Regions from separate parts of the Homo sapiens genome. Here region 2 is linked to region 1. Evidence: promoter capture Hi-C in 16 types of primary human blood cells and fetal thymus (Javierre and others, 2016). All regions are on one chromosome and are shown on one strand. The core of a region is centred on a gene start or on the middle of the fragment in contact, and the rest is flanking DNA. Distances in the headings are between cores, read along the strand shown. Region 1 holds the start of FHAD1-AS1 (FHAD1 antisense RNA 1). Region 2 overlaps FHAD1 (forkhead associated phosphopeptide binding domain 1).

Region 1 (5,299 bases), core at 391-2,890:
ATTTCAGTCTTTTGCTTTCTCTTTATACATATCGGGGGAAACAAATGGTCAAAATTGCTACTGACTTTTCTAGAAATCAAGCCAGTTAGAAGATAGCAGCATCTCTAAAACTCGAACGTGCCCATGAATTGTCTGGGGATCTGGTTAAGATGCAGATTCTGTCTCAGCAGGCCTGAGACGCTACATTTTCAACAAGCTCCCAGATGGTACTGACGCTACCAGTCTGCAGATCCACATTTTCTTAGGGCGAAGGCTTAGAGGAAGGTTTTCCCAAAGTTTCCTGATAAGAACCATCCAGATGCTTTGCTAAAAATGCAGATCTTGGTCTCCACCCTCCAGACCCATTAAATCAGAACATCTGGAGAGGGCCAGGAAACTGTATTATTTAATGAGCTGATTCTCATCACTGTCCTAGAGTTGGCCCTTTTTTTTCTTAAGATGGGGTCTTGCTCTGTTGCCCAGGCTGGAGTGCAATAGTGTGACCATAGCTCACCACAGCCTCGAACTCCCAGGCTGCAGTGGTCCTCCCACCTCAGCCTCCCAAGTAGCTGGGACCACAGGCATATGGCACTACACCCAGCTAATTATTATTTTTTTTTGTAGAGATGGGATCTTGCAATGTTGCCCAGGCTGGTCTTGAACTCCTGGGCTCAAGTGACCCTCCCACCTCAGTCTCTCAAGTAGCTGGGACCACAGGCACACACCACCACACCCAGCTAATATTTTTATTTTTTGTAGAAATGAGGTCTCTCTCTATGTTGCCCAGGCTGGTCTCAGACTCCTGGCATCAAGTGATCCTCCCACCTCAGCCTCCAAAAGTTCTGGGATTACAGGTATGAGCCACCATACCTGAGGGTTGGCCCTTTTTGATATTCAGGGACCCCTCCCATGAATTTCACTGTCTTTATGACTTTTGTCATTTAGGAGATTAAAAATTACTAATGCCTTGCACCTCTCCCCGCCGACTCTCCACATTCTGATCTTAGTGGGGTGAGGGTGTGGCCCCTGCTGTGGGATTTCTAAGCACTCCCGGGTGGTCGCAAAGTGCAGCCACGGTTGCGAGCCACTGTTGTGGGTGGGTGTGGAGCAGCGTGTGCATGCTGCCCCTCCTCACAGCCCCCTCAAGACAGCAGCCCCCCAGATCCACCGGACCCCAACTCTTCCCAGATATCTCCTCTCTTCCCCGGAAGAGTACTGGACCTGCCCCCTTCTCCATCTTTCCCCAGCTCCTTCTCTACCACACACACCTGCCCTCCAGACCTCTCCCTCTTTCATCTCCATCCTCACATGTGTGTCCAGTTACCCCAAAACATCAGTCTCCTCCTCCTTCTTCTCTTTGCCTCTTTCTCTGCTTTTCTGCATTTGCGAAATAAAAGATTAAAAAAGAAGAGCCATCTGACCAAATCATGTGCAATCCGCATAAAGGTAATATTAATGATAGCTATAAATCAAGATGGGCACATTTTGAAGGGCATTTAGATACGGAAAAAGCCAGCACCGTTCCATAGAGAAGAAAATAAAACCAGAAAGTACCTAGAAATCTTCAAAATCTTCGCAGAACTCTCCACCGACTTCCTTTTTTCTTCTCTGATTACCTTCTCCTTTTAACATCGGCATCCCAAATGCCTTATTTTCTCTTTTTAATTTTGGATGGACTTTTTCCCTTGTCAGGGTTTGGTATTTCAGCCCCACCATGTTAAACACTGCGTTGGGCGCCTGCCTAGTCTTCCTAGACAACCCTGGCGACACTGGCCTGGCAGAGTGTTTTAAGAGCTGGCGTCAGCCCCTCTTTTAAACCTGAAAACCTCGGTGCACCCTACCCTCCTTGCAGAGGGAGGAAGCAACATCAGGTCCCTGCCAGACAGACTGTGACACTCGAAGGTCGCCCTTCCTCTGATACTCGGATTGATGGACTTGACCCTGGGGACTCCTTGGAAAGTTACCTCTTGGACTTCAGTGCCAAGTGTCCTGACTAAATGAGCCTTCCTTAGACCTTCTGACTCCCATCACCTGCCCTTTCCGAAAATACATGTGTCCAGGGTCATTAATCTCATGAATCTTGACTTGTTTGAGGACTTTGTTTCAAAGGGAAAAAAAATTCTATGTTCCTTTATCAATCTAACATTCTTTTCTTATTGCCAGTTGTTGACAACAATCCCTTGGTTTGTGCACACACCAATGGGTTAGATCAGGGATTGGCCAAATTGTCCCATAAAGAGCCAGATAGTAAATATTTTCAGTTTTGCAGGTCATATGCTCTCTGCTCTTCTGCAAAAGCAGCCATAGACAATACACAGCAAGCACAGTGTTCCAATAAAACTTTATTTACAAAAACAGACCAGATTTGGTCTGTAAGCCATAGTTTGCTAACCTCTGGTTTAGAACACAGGCTTCAGAATCAAATGGGTCAGAGTTAGAATCCCTCCTCTTGTGATTTACTAGTAAACTGGGTGGATTCTTGAATGTAAGCCTGTTTCCTCCTCTGCAAGGTGGGAAGCATGGTTATCACTGTGCCAAGCATTTCGTGTTCATCGTCGCATCCACCCCTCACATCAACCCAACACAGGAAGACTATTACTGTCTCCGTTGTACAGGCAGGGAAACTGAGGCTCTGGTAGCTTCACTTCCCCAGTGCCTTACAGCTGGAAAGGATCAACCTGGGGCTCTACCCTGGGTCTCCTGACTCCAGAGCACATGCTCTGAGCTCCTAGGCTCTGCTGCCCACAGCCTCCCCAGGGGAGTGCGGTGAGGAGTGAAGAGGTAGCACATGCAGTGCCTGGCAGCGTCCAAATTCCTGCCATGGTAACCATGTCTGTTAAACAATGGTCATTGGTTTCCAGGCTTTGGAGGAGTACATTACTCAAGAGAGAAACAGAGCGAAAGAGACTTTAGAGGAAGAACGGAAGAGAATGCAAGAACTGGAGAGCCTCCTGGCCCAGCAGAAGAAGGTATGTGGCTCAGGGAGACAGAGTCAGCTCGAGCCCCACTGCAGCTAGGAAGGGTGGATCTGGGGCTCTGGTCTGGGCCCGCCGGCTCTGAGCTCCAGGGCTGTGCTGTCCACAGTCCCCTAGGGAGGTGTAGTCTGGAGGGAAGAGGAAACCTGTGCGGTGCCTGGCAGAGTCCAGTTTCCTCCCATGGTAACCATGTCTATTGAACAATGATCGTTGACTCAGGCTTTGGCGAAAAGCATTACCCAGGAGAAGAACAGAGTGAAGGAAGCATTAGAGGAAGAGCAGACAAGAGTCCAAGAGCTGGAGGAACGCTTGGCCCGCCAGAAGGAGGTACGCTCGGGGAGATAGAGTCGGCTGAGCCCCAGTCGGCTTGAGGGCCATGTGGAAGGAAGTTCAGAGCGGCGATGATGGGGGTGAGATCGTGGTGGAGCCTTCCTCGTGGAGTTTGCGTTTGGGTGGGCTCAGCTACTTTGGGAAGCGTGGGAGACTCAAGGAGGGAACCCTGGAGTTGTAGCCTTGACAACCAGTTGGGAAAAAATTGTAAACAGTGTAAAACACAGTCAGAGAGAGAGAGCGCTTGGGAGACAAGTAGGAATGGTGACATGGGCGTCTTCTGTGTTCCAAAGCACAGAAACGGGAGAATGACAGAGTCATGGGACCTCAGGGCTGCGTGGACCCTCCACCAGCATCCTAAAAGCCTCCAGCCTTCAGCACCACCACTAAGGAATGTTCTCCACCCCAGGACAGTCCGTCCCAGCATGGATGCCTCAGGCCGACAGAAAGTTTTCCCTTTAGGTTGAGTTGTGTCAAACTCTTACGCCCCGGAGGAGTATCAGTCCTCCGCCCTCCCCTGCGCTCCCACAAGATACATCTACTTCCTCTTCCACATGATGACTCAGATGTGTGAAAACAGGGGCGCCCGCACCCTGTGTCTGCTCCTCCCCGGGCCCAAGCGCCCTTGTTCCTCAGGTCCCTCACAGGACTAGAGCCTGGCCCTGGCTGCCTCCTGTGGCCTGTGCTGCTCTCCAGAAGTCACAGACTGGTAGCTCAGCGACTAAAAAGGGCCTGTGGAAGTTATATTTGGCCCCGGAATATTTTACTTTGAATTCATAAAATCTATTTAAAAGTTCAGATTTCCAGCCTCTCCCGAAAAGTCAGAAAATCTAGCCCTTGTTTCTACTTAGCAAAAATGGACTAGAAGCCTTACCGGGTAGCAGCAGTTTGCCAGAGTCCTCACCACTCCCCGTTGCATTAAACACAGCCCACGTCATTTTTGGTATCTGTCCGGGCTTCATAGGCATTGAGTTTGTCACCCATCACCCATTTTCTTCCTAAAGGGAGGTGGCCAGAACCACTGTTCTCCAGCCACGGTAGCCTAGGGGAGGACTCCTCCCTCCCGCATTGAAGATATTCTACTTCTGTTAATGCATCCAAACTAGCTTTTGGGAAAGCTCTGTCACATTTGTGGATTCATGTTTAGCTTGTGGTCACCCTCAGATCCCTGATCCTTTTTCACATCTGCTTTCATGAATTCCTCAATCCTGACACAGCACAGAGGAGTGCGGGCTTTGCAGCCAGATGAGACACAAGTTCAAATCCGAGCTGGGCTACTTCCTGGCTGCAGCAGACCTACCGCTGCCTCCCTTCTCGAAGGGGCGGCTGTGGGCTCAGATCTAGTGTATAATGGAGGGCCTGGCCTGCGGAATGATTGCCGAGTAAACGGCAGCTGTTACTACTGTCTCTGCTGCCACTTGTGCCTCTTCTTCTGTTTGGGCATTTGTTTTTCTTCAACACTGACTCCTTGAGTAAAATCCTTGCCCACCCACTGCTGCAGGAGAAACAAAAAGACCTCTGGGCAAAGCCTGTGCCATTTGATCTGACCCAGGACAGAGAGACGTTTACATGTCGGTTCTCCCTTGGCGTCTCTGGCACAGGTGTGCCCTGCAGCCCTCTCACAGAGCGTCACTGAGGTTTGCCCCCAAGTGATTTCTCCAGGGGTGGGGATGAGGAGGAGGGTCTCCAAAGAGTTACTTGAGTCAAATGCCCCAAGATGTCAACAGCAAAAGCCTGGGGAAGATTCTTGAATTTAGAGACTTTGAGGCCACGGGGCTCAGGAGATAAATTCAAGCTTCATTGCAGAGGATCTGTGGTTGGGTCACCCCGCGTCTGTTAAAATGTCAGCCTACTTCTGACAGAACTTCTCTGTGGCTTCCTATCGGGGGAATTTGAAAGAGCAGCCCCAGCCACAGGCTCCATTCAACTGCCAGTGGCTATTTGATTTTCTTTTTTTCTGTCTCCCAGGCTGGAGTGCAGCGGCATGATCTTGGTTCACTGCAACCTCTGCCTCC
Region 2 (5,299 bases), core at 1,680-4,179, 51 kb after region 1:
AACACGGTGAAACCCCGTCTTTACTAAAAATACAAAAAATTAGCTGGGCATGGTGGCGGGCGCCTGTAGTCCCAGCTACTCGGGAGGCTGAGACAGGAGAATGGTGTGAACCTGGGAGGCGGAGCTTGCAGTGAGCCGAGATTGCGCCACTGCACTCCAGCCTGGGGACACAGCGAGACTCCGTCTCGAAAAAAAAAAAAGTTTCCTCCAGGTTCCTTGAAATACATAGCTTGGGGTCTCCGTCCTCTATAGTGTGCTTCGAGTCCTTAAGGTGATGGAGTCATCATGACCACCCTGAGGAAGATGCGACGTGGAAAATCTACTCTTTCAGGCTTGCTTGCTCATAAAAAAAGTGTCCATCCCTAACAAGCTTCAGAACTGGATTTGTGCCTTTCTTTTCAAGGCCCTACGGGTTTTTGTTTTCTGTCCTCCAAAATACCATTCACTGATTTTTTTTTCCATTTTGGCCAACAGTCTTTTGTTCGTGGGCTATATGCTATAAAGGAAAATCTTCCAGTTAACAAGTACTTACTGAGGACCTAGGCTAGGCCACCTACCGTGCTAAGCACTGGGGAGAGAAGGGCGAACAAAAAGAGAGACTGCCCTGGCCCTCATTCGCACAACAGATATTAAGAGTCAGCAACGTGGCAGGGCTGTCCAGGTGTTAAGGTTGGATGATGCATCCTCAGTGGGGGCAGCATCACCCCCGAGGGGGCAAAAATTCATTCCTTTTTTTTTTTTTTTTTTTTGAGACAGAGTCTTGCTCTATTGCCCAGGCTAGAGTGCAGTGGTGCAATTTCGGCTCACTGCAACCTCCACCTCCCAGGTTCAAGCGATTCTCCTGCCTCAGCCTCCCGAGTAGCTGGGACTACAGGTATGCACCACCACGCCCAGCTAACTTTTGTATTTTTAGTAGAGACGGGGTTTCACTATATTGGCCTGGGTAGTCTGGAACTCCTGACCTCAGGTCCACCCTTCCAAGGTGGAGGGATTACAGGCATGAGCCACCGCGCCTGGCCAAAAATTCATTCTTTCTATGTATAAAGCAATAGCCATATCTACATAGATGTGGACACACACACACACGCACACACACACACACACACACACACTGCTATCTGTAAAAGGGTGAGGGGCTGGGGAAAAAACCTCTAAGAATTCTCAGGGGGCGAGGTTGATAGTGAAAGAAAGGCTGAGAAACACAGAGTTAGACTAATGAAGACATAAAGATCCCTGCCTGCCTGCCTGGCTTACAGTCTTGGGCTTTTTTTTTTTTGGAGACCGTGTCTTGCTCTGTGGTCCAGGCTGTAGTGCAGTGGCACCATCTCAGTTCACTGCAACCTCCACTTCCCAGGCTCAAGTGATCCTCCCACCTCAGCCTCCCAAAGTGCTGGGATTTTAGACATGAGCCACTGCCCCTGGCCTCTTTTTTTTTTTTTAAGTAAATACACATAATGATTAAATAATAACTTTGAGCCCAGTGTTTGGAGGACAAAGGCCCCTGAACTGAGCTGAGCATATTTCACAGGGACGTCTTCACTCCCAGTCCAAGCTCCAGGAGAGGCCTTCCTGAGGACCGTATATTTAAACTTAGACCTGAGGTTGTGTGGGAGTGGGCAGGGGGCTTCCTAGAGCCGAGGCTTGCAGTTTCCTGAAGCAGACACCCCAGGATGGCCTGAGTTCATTCACACCTGGGTGTGGCTATTTAAATGACCGGCTTCTACCCCTGCCTTTTCATTCTAAGGGTGAGGCACGTGGTTCCAAATATCTCAAGTGGAATCTGTGCATTTCACATTCCCCATTCCCAGGTCAGCGGTCCTGGCTGCCTTCTGCTGCCCCATCCTTTGTCATTTCATAAAGAGAACAAAGCCCCTTCCGTGGTGCTTCCCATCCCATGCTTCTGGCAGCCCTGGGGCTGGAGACCTGGGGACCTGGGACTCTTTAACAAACTCCCTGGCTCCAACTCTGACAGCCAACTCCACACCGGCTCAGGGCACTGGCATTTGGAAACCATCCACAGTCAGCAATTTTATTGAAAATCAAATGAAAAGGAATATAAAGTAAGGGTTGTTTAGGGGGGAAGGCTTTTGAGTTTGCTGTCTGTTTTCTTTTTCCCTGCGCATTTGGACCAATATTTACTTTGTGGGCTGGTATGGGACTGACTTACCCTTTCTTGCCCTGAAACAATCTTGAATGCAGAGTCTCAAAACACGTTTGAGGCTCCTGTCAGCCACTGTCACAGGCCTCAGGAGGTGATTTTTAAATCCATCTTAAGGTGAAAAGAGCTTAAGTGATGGTCCTAACAGACTCTTCCATTGAAATCTTCCCAGAATCTCCTCTGTGCCCTCTGAGGAAGGCAGGATCGATATTCATCCCTATTTGGCAGATGAGGAAACTGAGGGTCATGTAGTGAGTGGCAGAGCTGAAACGCGACTAGCCACCCAGCCCTCTTGCCCCAGGTGTATGTGCAGCCTGAAGGCTGGGGGCAAAGCTTTGCAGGAACAGAGTTGGCAAGGTAAATCCTGTTGGAAAGAAACTTGCAAGCCACAGTATTATCCACAGTGTGTCCAGAATTGTTTGCGAGAGAGATCTTGGGTTGCAGTTAACAAAAATCTACTCAGAAAAGGGGCAGGGCGGGGGGCTTTTATAAAGATACAGAAATGAATGCCTCATAAAACCTATGGGAAAGGCTGGGTGCGGTGGCTCACGCCTGTAATCCCAGCACTTTGGGAGGCCGAGATGGGCGGATCATGAGGTCAGGAGTTTGAGACCATCCTGGCTAACATGGTGAAACCCCATCTCTACAAAAAATACAAAAAAATTAGCCGGGCATGCTGGCGGGCACCTGTTGTCCCAGGTACTCGGGAGGCTGAGGCAGGAGAATGGCGTGAACCCGGGAGGCGGAGGTGAGCAGAGATCACGCCACTGCAGTCCAGCCTGGGCGACAGAGCAAGACTCCATCTCAAAAAAAAAAAAAAAAAGCTACGGGAGAGAACTAGGAGGATAGCCCAGGCATCGTCTCTCTCGTGCATGCATGCACTCGGGCACACACACGTCTCCATGTCATTTCTGCCCCTCTCCATACCTCTGCTGATTTCTTCTCTCTCCAGTGGTATGACAAGAAGGGACAGCCTCACAGTCCCCCAGTTCAAAGGGCCAGCCCAGGGAGCGAGTGGCATCTCACAGCCCATTACCCCGACTCCTAGGAGTGGGCATCGGAAAAGCCCAGCTGTGCCAAGTGTCCAACAAATATGGCCCGGGAGTGGGGTCATGCACACGGCTGCCAGGACGCCCCCTCCTTTGAGCTGGGAAGTGCTCAAGGGGTTAAACAGACCCCCTTAAATATACTTCACTTTCTCCTTCTAAGCCAAGCTTGTCCAACCCGCAGCCCAGGACAGCTTTAAATGCAGCCCAACACAAATTCGTAAACTTTCTTAAAACATTATGGGATAATTTTTTTTTTAGCTCATCAGCTACCATTAGTGTTAATGTATTTTACGTGTGGCCCAAGACTATTCTTCTTCCAGTGTGGCCCAGGGAAGCCAAAAGTTTGGACACCCAGTTCTAAGCCATCAGAGACTTTAGACACATTCAAGTCAGTAACAGCCTTTCAGGAGAAACACCATCACAATGAATGTGTTACTGTAAGAACCTCCTGGTTTCAAACTAAAAAATATGTAAAGGGACCAGGCTTGGTGGCTCACACCTGTAATCCCAGCACTTTGGGAGGCCAAGGAGAGCAGATCACTTGAGCCCAGGAACTCGAGACCAGCCTGGGCAACATGGCAAAACCTCATCTCTACAAAAAGTAAAATAAAATAAAATAATTAGTTGGGCATAGTGGTGCACACCTATAGTCCCAGCTTACTCGGGAGGCTGAGGTTGGAGGATCACCTGAGCCTGAGGAGGTCGAGGCTGCAGTGAGCGGGGATTGCTCCACAGCACTCCAGCCTGGGCAACAGAGTGAGACCCCATATCAAGAAAAAAAAAAAGAAAAAATAGAGAAAAGGAAAGCAATATCTGTATACCTGGAAGGGTGCACCCCAAAACCTCACTAAAGCTCATCTTTGAGTAACGTGATAATGATGAATCATTTTATCTCTTTTGTGCTCATATCTGTGTGTGTATATATATATTTTTTACAACAAATATTTTATTTTGTGTACAAAAAAATAACAAAACCAGCCGGGTGTGGTGGCTTATGCCTGTAATCCTAGCACCGTGGGAGGCCAAGGCAGGCAGATCACTTGAGGTCAGGAGTTCCAGACCAACTTGACCAACATGGTGAAACCCCCATCTCTACTAAAAATACAAAAATTAGCCGGGTGTGGCGGCATGTGCCTGTAGTCCCAGCTGCTTGGGAGGCTGAGGCAGGAGAATCACTTGAATCCGTGAGGTCGAGGTTGCAGTGAGCAGAGATCATGCCACTGCACTCCAGCCTGGGCCACAGAACAAGACTCTGTCTCAAAAAATAATAATAATAAGTAAATAAATAAGTACAATACAATAAAATACATGGGAAGTGTCTAGTTCTCCTCATGTTAAAAATAATTAAATAAGGCTGGGTGCGGTGGCTCAAGCCTGTAATCTCAGCACTTTGGGAGGCCAAGACGGGCGGATCACGAGGTCAGGAGATCAAGACCATCCTGGCTAACACGGTGAAACCCCGTCTCTACTAAAAAAAAAAAAAAAAAAAAATTAGCTGGGCGTGGTGGCGGGCGCCTGTAGTCCCAGCTACTCGGGAGGCTGAGGCAGGAGAATGGCATGAACCCAGGAGGCGGAGCTTGCAGTGAGCCGAGATCACACCACTGCACTCCAGCCTGGGCGATAGAGCGAGACTCCGTCTCAAAAAAAAAAAATTAAATAAAATAAAAAATAACAAAACCACTTGAGTGGAACAATTGGAGTCTTGCTGCAATGGAGTTTGTGTGTTTTTTCTCTTGCTTGTTAAAGGTTGGAACCAGAAAAGCCTCCCTAAAGATGGACCAAGAAAGAGAGATGCTGAGGAAAGAGACCTCCAGCAAGTCCAGCCAGAGCCTTTTGCATTCTAAGCCCAGTGGAAAGTACTAGAGAAACCTCGTCCCACCAGGCCTCATGTGATCCTCTGTGAGTTCATGTGACTCTTCTGTGTCATCTGTGTCAAAATACTGAGTTGCTTTTGTAAGTCTTTAAAGATTGTTACCCTAGTGTTTCATTTCCTAGACCAGTATTTTGAACAATATTATATTTTGGAGACTGTGGGGAGAAGGGTTCTTCTTTAAAAATACCTATGAATGTACACGAACTCAGGTATATGAAG

The links. Contacts are between HindIII fragments. The CHiCAGO score rates a contact against its expected background, and 5 or more counts as called.
Region 2: a fragment that was not itself captured here is called in contact with the fragment with the promoter of FHAD1-AS1 in region 1 in 5 of 17 cell types (M1 macrophages, endothelial precursors, M0 macrophages and 2 more); the score reaches 5.7 in M1 macrophages.

The regions. Positions count from the first base shown.
Region 1 is chr1:15,342,243-15,347,541 of GRCh38, forward strand. FHAD1-AS1 (FHAD1 antisense RNA 1) reads right to left here and starts at 1,641. Exons shown (of 2, transcript NR_148919.1): 1 at 1,534-1,641. It overlaps FHAD1 (forkhead associated phosphopeptide binding domain 1), which reads left to right. Exons shown (of 34, transcript NM_001391957.1): 17 at 2,841-2,948; 18 at 3,174-3,281. RefSeq lists an enhancer at 3,551-3,750. The HindIII fragment of the contact is 5,872 bases long and covers 1-5,077 here.
Region 2 is chr1:15,392,344-15,397,642 of GRCh38, forward strand. FHAD1 (forkhead associated phosphopeptide binding domain 1) reads left to right here. Exons shown (of 34, transcript NM_001391957.1): 34 at 4,954-5,299. The coding sequence ends at 5,070. Among named protein-coding and RNA genes, the nearest start is that of EFHD2, 15 kb to the right of the region's middle. RefSeq lists a silencer at 4,724-4,891. The HindIII fragment of the contact is 881 bases long and covers 2,490-3,370 here.